2 separate regions of the Homo sapiens genome follow, and region 1 is linked to region 2. Evidence: promoter capture Hi-C in 16 types of primary human blood cells and fetal thymus (Javierre and others, 2016). All regions are on one chromosome and are shown on one strand. The core of a region is centred on a gene start or on the middle of the fragment in contact, and the rest is flanking DNA. Distances in the headings are between cores, read along the strand shown. Region 1 overlaps LINC01923 (long intergenic non-protein coding RNA 1923). Region 2 holds the start of MARS2 (methionyl-tRNA synthetase 2, mitochondrial).

Region 1 (4,649 bases), core at 654-3,153, 590 kb after region 2:
CTGGCTAACATGGCAAGACCCCATCTCTACAAATAAACCAAAAAAACAAAAATTAGCTGGGTGTGGTGGTGGGTGCCTTTAGTCCCAGCTACTCGGGGCTGAGGCAGGAGGATCCCTTGAGCCCAGGAGGTCAAGGGTGCAGTGAGCTGTGATCACACCACTGCACTCCAGCCTGGCAACAGAGCAAGACCGTGTCTCAATCAGTCAATCAATCAATGAATAAAAATAAATAAATAAAAAGGAAGGGAGCAAAGTGTCTCACAATGTAGTACCCAGGGAAGCAGATGGAGCTCTGGAAGGAGGAGGAGAGAGGTGATGAAGAAGACCATGAATTAGTGAAAAAAAAAAAAAAAAGAAAGAAAGAAAAAAAACATGTAGTAGGAAAGGAAGGTCTCACCTTTTGAGCATGCATTCATTTTTTTAAGTACCCATACACTGAATATCCTTGTCCTGGTTCACTGAAAAACATTGTTACTGAGCTCCTGCTGTATATACTGGAGGTCTCCAGTGTGCACAGATGCATCTCCCACAGATGCATACTACCTAGTCTCTCTGTAAGATTATTTTGATGGTCCCTGGAAGCAGTCTTGTTTTTTCAGGACTAAGGTGAAAGTAACTTAAAATTTGCATTAATCAAAATTAATGAAAGGAAATCCATGATGAACAAAATATCAACAATTTATATAAAGGCAATATCAATATCCTAGGGCTGAAACAACAGATCATTTATGTTCCTATCAATAGTGAAACTCATATAGATTTCTTATAATTAAAACAAAAGGAAGGGTATAGGGAAAGACACCAGCCAAGGCAGTCTTAACTATTCACAGTCTGCTCAGTTGTGCAGGCTCAGTTGAAACAGCTGGTCTAGGGTCTGTGGCCGCTTTAGGGATAATTCTGAGGTGGGTTCGTGCTGCCATCTAGTGGTCATATTGCATTATACGCCGTCTTCACTTCTGGAGGCTCTCTTGGGGGAAAACGTGATAAACCTGAAAAGATCCAGGTCAAGGAGGTAGACGAATGTGAGAAATTTTCCGGATTGACAGGTTTTTGGATGTAACCAATTATTTGATATTCTGGTTTTTTTTGTTCTCTTAAAATACGAATTGGAATCCTCTTATGTTTGAGGAGCTGTGCTAGATGCTGGATATGGTCTGGTGAATATGCATGACCATGTCTTTGTCCTGGGAGAGCTCCTTGAAAGAGTCCAATTCACCCACCAGCCCATTTCATTAAAAACAAAGAACCCTGGAGAGAGTTGGAGAAAGTAAGTGATTGGTTTAAAGTCACATAATTAGTTAATTGGGGAGTCAGCCTTAGAATCCAGCTGTGTAAGCTTTTCATTCTATACTGTTGTCTTCTCACCTTAACAGAAACTTGTCTTTAAGATGTTGAGCCAAGCATTTAAAAGTTACTCCTCCAAATCCTTCCTGAGAGGAGTAGTTGTAGCATATTTCAGATACAGCTGCATTTCTGCTATTAACTCTCTAGTTTAAGTTATAGCAAGCAGTGCTGCTAAGAAACTTACTGCATAAGTACGTAAGAGTCAAAGTGATACAAAATTGACAAGAGTCATCTTTGTTAAATGTAATTTACTTAACACTAGAAAAAGGGAAGTGATAACTTACCCTTCGTCCTTGTGCCAGCAAGGGTATCTTTTTTTTTTTTTTTTTAATAACTGAGCTGCTTCCCATTCCAAATTTCATTAAGACCCTGGCTTCAAGGGATCATCAATGATCCCTTCTCCTACTAATCTCTTGAAAGTAGCTTCATTTTTCTAGGTGCAGGGCACTATATGTTCACCAGCAATACTTCTTATATTGAGTTTTTTTTTGGTGGGGGGGGACAGGGTCTTGTCTGTCACCCAGGCTAGAGTTCAGTGGCGTGATCTTGGCTCACTGCAACTTTCACTTCCCAGGTTCAAGCAATCCTCCCACCCCAGCCTTCTGAGTAGGTGGAACTACGTGTGGTCCACCACTATGCTTAGCTGTTTTTTTTTTTTTTTTTTTGAGATGGAGTTTTGCTCTTGTTGCCCAGGCTGGAGCGCAATGGCCCGATCTCGGCTCACCACAACCTCCGCCTCACAGATTCAAGCGATTCTCCTGCCTCAGCCTCCCAAGTAGCTGGAATTACAGGCATGCGCCACCATGCCCGGCTATTTTTTTGTATTTTTAGTAGAGACGGGGTTTCTCCACGTTGGCCAGGCTGGTCTCGAACTCCTGACCTCAGGTGATTAGCCCGCCTCGGCCCCAAAAGTTCTGGGATTACAGGCGTGAGCCATCGCGCCCAGCCTGCTCAGCTGATTTTTAAAATTTTTTGTAGAGACGAGGTCTGACTATATTGCCCAGGCTATGTTGATGCTACTTGTTCAAGATAAAATAATAAAATCTAACAAGGCGAGATAAAAAATTTTGATTAAGTGCTAAGTGGCATACATATTTAATATATACTGTATTTAATTTTTATTATAAAAGCTTTCAAACATACACAAATATAAAGTTTGCAGTGAACCCCAATGTATCCATCACCCAACTTGCCGACATTGGCATCACTCATTTAGCAAGATTCTGCTGTATTGTTTTTTCTATCCTGTTTTTCTTCCTTTTTTTCTGAAGAATTTAAACAAATCACAGACACTTTACCCTTATTACACTTTACTCTTAAATAAAAAATTAAAATTCCTCAAAAATATGGTTCTTTGTTTATATATAGACAGTCATATGCTGTATAATGAGGTTTTGGTCAACAGTAGAGTGAATATATGATGGCAGTCTTGCACAATTATTATGGAGCTGAGAAATTCCTATCAGCCGACTTGTTACTGCCATTGTAGCATCATAACTCAATGCATTACTCTTGTGTCTGTGGTGATTCTGGTGCAAACAAACCTACTATGCTGACAGTCATATAAAAATCTAGCACATACAATCGTGTATAGTAAATAGTCCTTGATAATGAAAATAAATGACTATGTTACCGGCTTATGTATTTACTATACTTTCGATCATTATTTTGTAGTGTACTCCTTCTACTAATATAAAAAAATTAACTGTAAAACAGCATCAGGTGTGTCCTTCAGGGGGTATTCCAAAAGAAGGCATTGTTATCACAGATGACAGTTCTTGCATGTTATTGCCCCTGAAGACCTTCCAGTGGGAGAAGATATGGAGGGGAAAGACAGTGATGTTGATGATCCTGACCCTCTGTAGGCCTAGGCTAATGTGTGTTTGAGTCTTAGTTTTTGATAAAAAATTTTGAAAAGTTAAAAGAATTAAAAATAGAAATGAGCTCATAAAATAAAAATAAAGAGAGAAAATATTTTTGTACACTTAGACAATTCATTTGTATTTCAGGCTAAGTATTATTATAACAGTCAGAAAATTTTAAAAATTAAAAGGTTTGTCAAGTAAAAATGTTACAGTAAGCTAAGGGTAATTTATTATTGAAGAAAGAAAACAATTTTAAAATAGATTTAGGGTAACCTAAGTGTACAGTGTTTATAAAGTCTACAGTAGGGTACAGTGATGTCCAAGGGCCTCACATTCACTCATCATTTACTCACTGACTCACCCAGAGTAACTTCCAACCTGCAAGCTTTATTTATGGTAAGCAACCTATACAGGCACACCATGTTTTATCTCTTATACAGTATTTTTACTGTACCTTTTCTATGGTTAGCTATGTTTAGATACACAAATACTTACCATTGTTTTACAATTGCCTACAGTATTCAGTACAGTAACAGGTTGTACAGGTTTGTAATCTACCAGCAACAAGTTATACTATATAGCCTAGGTGTGTTGTAGGCTATACCGTCTAGGTGTGTGTAAGTACACTATGATGTTCACACAATGATAACAGTGCCTAATGACACATTTCTCAGAAGGTATGCCCACTGCTCAGTGATTCATGACTGTATATATATGCGTACACACACACACACACATACACACACACACACACATATATATATATGAATTTCTAGATCTATATAGAAATTGGCTAATGCATGATTATGGAGGCTGAGAAGTCCCAAGACCAGCAGTTGCAAGCTGGAAACCTGGGAGAGTCAATGTATAGTTCAGTCTGGAAGCCAGCAGACTCAGGATACAAGATGAGCTGATTTTCAGTTTGAGTCGGAAGGCAGAAAAAGAACAATGTTCCAGCACCAGAAGTCAGGCAGCTTGAGATCACCGTATTTTGGGGGAGGTTCAGCCTTTTTGTTCTATGTAGGGCTTCCACAGGTTGGATGAGGGACACCCCCACTGGGGAGGGCGGTCTTCTTTACTCAGTCTACTGATTCAATGTTAATCTCATCCAGAAACATCCTCACAGACATATAAAAAAAAATTTGACAAATGTCTACACATCCTGTGGCCTAGTCAAGCTGACATATAAAATCACCTGTCACAGTAGTGTCTACCAGATTTGTCTTCTACAGGTGCTGTTTCCCTGGGGGAATGAATGAGGATTCCGTGTGTGATATTCTGTGACTGTGTCAATGTCCTGCTCCCCAGCATTTTATCCAATGGAGTCATAGAGCTTAAACTGCTAAAAGGTGCTAGAAAGTGCTTGGGTTAGTTGAAAAGAGATAAATAACTTCCTTTAATGTTAAGAACTTCCTACAGAGTCCAGTTCAAGGTCAAGAT
Region 2 (4,546 bases), core at 1,720-4,219:
GACACTTAGCTTCCATTTATCTGCCAGTTCTGGAGGGTGCCGTATATACCTTCCAGTTTTAAGTTTTACCTATGTTCACTTGCCATTTTAAAAAAAACTTGTATTAGGTTCAGGGTACATGTGCCTGTTTGTTATATAGGTAAATTGTGTGTCACGGCAGTTTGGTGTACAGATTATTTCTCCACCTAGGTAAAAAGCATAGTACCCGATAGATGGTTTTTCAGTCCTCACTCTCCTCCCTTCCTCCACCCTCAAGTAGGCCCCAGAGTCTGCTGTTTCCTTTTTTGTGTCCATATGTACTCAATGTTTTGCTCCCACTTGTGAGAACATATGATAGTTGGCTTTCTGTTCCTATGTTGGTTAACTTAGGATAATGGCATCCAGCTCCACCCATGTTGCTGTAAAGAACATGATCTTGTTCTTTTTTATGGTTGCATAGTATTCCATGGTGTATATGTACCACATTTTCTTTATTCAGTCTACTGTTGATGGGCATTTAGGGAAGATTCCATGTCTTTGCTATTGTGAACAGTGCTGCAATAAACATGGGAGTGCGTTTTTTTTTTACAGTAGAATGATTTATATTCCTTTGGATATATACTCAATAATGAGATTGCTAAGTCAAATCATAATTATGCTTTGTGTTCTTTGAGAAATCACCAAACTGCTTTCTATAATGGCTGAAGTAATTTACATTCCCACCAGCAGTGTATGTGTTGCTTTTCTCTGCAACCTTGCCAGCATCTGTTGTTTTTTGACTTTTTAATAATATTCATTCTGACTGGTGTGAGATGGTATCTAAATGTGGTTTTGATTTGCATTTCTGTAATGACGAGTGATGTTAAGCATTTTTTATATGCTTGTTGGCCGCATGTCTATCTTCTTTTGAGAAGTGTCTGTTTATGTCCTTTGCCTTTTTAATGAGGTTTTTTGCTTATTGATTTTTAAAATTCCTTATAGATTCTGGATATTAGACCTTTCTTGGATTCATAGTTTGAAAATATTTTCTCCCATTCTGTAGATTGTCTGCTTACTCTGTTGATAGTTTATTTTGTGGTGCGGAAACTCTTTAATTAGGTCCCATTTGTCAATTTTTGTTTTTGTTGCAATTGCTTTTGGCATCCTCATGATGAAATCTTTGTCAGGTCCTATGTCCAGAATGGTATTTCCCAGGTTACCTTCTAAGGTTTTTAGTTTTAGGTTTTACATTTAAGTCTTTAATCCATTTTGAGTTGAGTTTTGTATATGGTATAGGAAGGGGGTCCTGTTTCATCTGTATATGGCTAGCTAGTTATCCAAGCACCATTTATTGAATAGGGAGTCTTTTGCCCATTGCTTGTTTTTATCAACTTTGTTGAAGACCAGATGGTTGTAGGTCATTCTTAAACTGCTGGATTAAATAAGAGCACATCAACTGAGTATCCAAAGTTATTTTTTATATCTCTTATACAGAATTCGATTGGTCCACCTTTCATCATATCACTAGAGAAATCAGATCCAAGTTACCATATGTGTTCAGTCAAAGGTTATTATACAGCAGTCAAAATGAATGAATTACATGCAACATGTATTAAGAACATATGAATGCAGTTACATGCAACAACATGGATTAATATAGCAACAAAATGTTGAATAAAAAGGCAAGTTGAAGACTACATGTAGTATTATATCCTTTTTAGAATATTTAAATGCAAGCAAAATTAAACAATGTTACTTAGACATACTTTGTATGTGATCACACAAATGTGCAAGAACAAAATTCAGGACAATGACTACCTCAGGGAGGACAGTACGAGAAGAAAAGGAGCACACAGATCTAAATCACTGGTAATTTTCTAGTTCAGTGTTTCTCAAACTTTAATGTGCATCAGAATCACCTTAAAATCTAAATTACTGGGCCCTACCCTCAGAGTTTTCTGGTTCAGTATGTGGGGGATGGGGCCTAAGAATATACATATCGAACGAAGTTCCAGGTGCTGCCAGTTCTGCTGCTCTGGGGACCACACTCTGAAACCACTTGTAGTTCTTAGATTGGGTTGTAGGTTCATAGCTGCTCCATTTTATTATTAAATGTATATGCTACTTAAATTAAATTAAAAAAAAAAGATCAAAGATGAGAGTGTGTTATGAACTAGGGATTAACATTAATTCAATTCTGGGCTCCTGAGGTTTCCTCCCCTAAAAAAAATTCTAAGGTTCCATTACTAAAAGCAAACTTGAGAAACACTATTTTAAAAGAACTTCAAGACCATTAAAAAAATTAACTTTTTGAGAAATAAATTTGAAAATTATTCTTTATATGCACAGTGACAGCATATTGCACTCTACTTTCCTGGATCTCAATAAACTTTGGCAAGAACTTGGCAGATCACAAATCTACTTTTGTTGATTCAACAAAAACTGTTTAAAGACTTCTCTTCCATTCTCAGTTCTTATCCTTCTCTCAAAATGCTGTAGGTAATGATTTTTCATCTTTTTTCTCTCTCCCTCCCTTACAGATTGATTTAGGCTCTGAGATAAAATTTAGGTGACATTTTAGATATCGACAGGGCATGTGCAGAGCAATACTCTGTCTTGCAGTATGCCAGCCACGGACGGGGTTTAGACAAACGGCTGAATATAAAACTCTTGCCTACAAGCAGCTCAGCCTAGAGGGGGAAACAGATTCATAAATATAAAATTACAATCCAAAGCAGGAAACACAGTATGTTATACGAAGGCAAAGAGGTTCGTCTTCTTTCATAGCCTCTCCTAAACCCGGCAACTCTGAGCTGTTTTTCTGGCAAGCCGCCGTCCATTGGCGGCCTCTGGCGCCGCGGCTTTCGGCGTGCGGACGGCGCAGGCGCGGGCGGGGCGGGGCCGGGCGGGGAGGGCGGTGAGGGCCGGCGCTCGGGGCCGCGTTTCATTGGCTTTCCGGCCGGAAGCTGCGGCGCGACCCGGCTGCGCATGCGCCTCTCACACGTGCTGTCAGAACGCCGCCTCCTCCGCTTGCGGCCGGTCTGCACCATGCTGCGAACGTCCGTCCTCCGCCTGCTAGGACGCACGGGGGCTAGTAGGCTGTCTCTCCTGGAGGACTTCGGCCCACGCTACTACAGTTCGGGCTCCCTCAGTGCCGGCGATGATGCTTGTGATGTGCGCGCCTACTTCACTACACCCATTTTCTACGTGAACGCGGCGCCGCACATCGGGCACCTGTACTCGGCACTACTGGCGGACGCCCTATGCCGCCACCGTCGCCTCCGAGGTCCCAGCACGGCCGCCACGCGATTCTCCACTGGTACCGACGAGCACGGGCTGAAGATTCAGCAGGCAGCAGCTACCGCGGGCCTGGCCCCGACCGAGCTGTGCGACCGAGTCTCTGAGCAGTTCCAGCAGCTTTTCCAGGAGGCCGGTATCTCCTGCACAGATTTCATCCGCACCACGGAGGCCCGGCACCGGGTGGCTGTGCAGCACTTCTGGGGGGTGCTTAAGTCCCGCGGTCTGCTCTACAAGGGCGTCTATGAAGGTTGGTATTGCGCTTCCGACGAGTGCTTCCTGCCTGAGGCCAAGGTCACCCAGCAGCCGGGCCCATCGGGGGATTCGTTTCCTGTATCTCTCGAGAGCGGGCATCCAGTCTCCTGGACCAAGGAAGAAAACTACATTTTCAGGCTTTCCCAGTTCCGGAAGCCACTCCAGCGGTGGCTGCGGGGCAACCCTCAGGCGATCACCCCCGAACCATTTCATCACGTAGTTCTTCAGTGGCTGGACGAGGAGCTGCCCGACCTGTCCGTGTCTCGCAGAAGTAGCCACTTGCACTGGGGCATTCCGGTGCCCGGGGATGATTCGCAGACCATCTATGTATGGCTGGATGCCCTGGTCAACTACCTCACTGTAATTGGCTACCCAAATGCTGAGTTCAAATCTTGGTGGCCGGCCACCTCTCATATCATAGGTAAGGACATTCTCAAATTCCATGCCATCTATTGGCCTGCCTTCCTGTTAGGGGCCGGCATGAGCCCGCCACAGCGCATCTGTGTCCATTCCCACTGGACAGTCTGTGGCCAAAAGATGTCCAAGAGCTTGGGCAACGTGGTGGATCCTAGGACTTGCCTTAACCGCTATACCGTGGATGGCTTCCGCTACTTTCTCCTTCGGCAGGGCGTCCCCAACTGGGACTGTGACTACTATGATGAAAAGGTGGTTAAGTTGCTGAACTCCGAGCTGGCAGATGCCTTGGGAGGTCTCTTGAACCGATGCACTGCCAAAAGAATAAATCCTTCTGAGACCTACCCAGCCTTCTGCACTACCTGCTTCCCTAGTGAGCCAGGGTTGGTGGGGCCGTCAGTTCGTGCTCAGGCAGAGGATTATGCTCTGGTGAGCGCAGTGGCCACTTTGCCAAAGCAGGTAGCAGACCACTATGATAACTTTCGGATATATAAGGCTCTGGAGGCCGTGTCCAGCTGTGTCCGGCAAACTAATGGTTTTGTCCAAAGGCATGCACCATGGAAGCTGAACTGGGAGAGCCCAGTGGATGCTCCCTGGCTGGGTACTGTGCTTCATGTGGCCT

Evidence for each region. Contacts are between HindIII fragments. The CHiCAGO score rates a contact against its expected background, and 5 or more counts as called.
Region 1: a contact is called between a fragment that was not itself captured here and the fragment with the promoter of MARS2 in region 2, in 15 of 17 cell types (naive CD4 T cells, fetal thymus, M0 macrophages and 12 more). The highest score is 14.2, in naive CD4 T cells.

The regions. Positions count from the first base shown.
Region 1 is chr2:198,295,946-198,300,594 of GRCh38, forward strand. LINC01923 (long intergenic non-protein coding RNA 1923) reads right to left here. Exons shown (of 3, transcript NR_110267.1): 3 at 3,418-4,649. Among named protein-coding and RNA genes, the nearest start is that of LINC01923, 77 kb to the right of the region's middle. The HindIII fragment of the contact is 1,138 bases long and covers 1,335-2,472 here.
Region 2 is chr2:197,702,400-197,706,945 of GRCh38, forward strand. It overlaps MARS2 (methionyl-tRNA synthetase 2, mitochondrial), which reads left to right and starts at 2,970. Exons shown (of 1, transcript NM_138395.4): 1 at 2,970-4,546. The coding sequence starts at 3,007. RefSeq lists a silencer at 2,784-3,023 and enhancers at 3,164-3,213, 3,254-3,373. The HindIII fragment of the contact is 9,491 bases long and covers 1-4,546 here.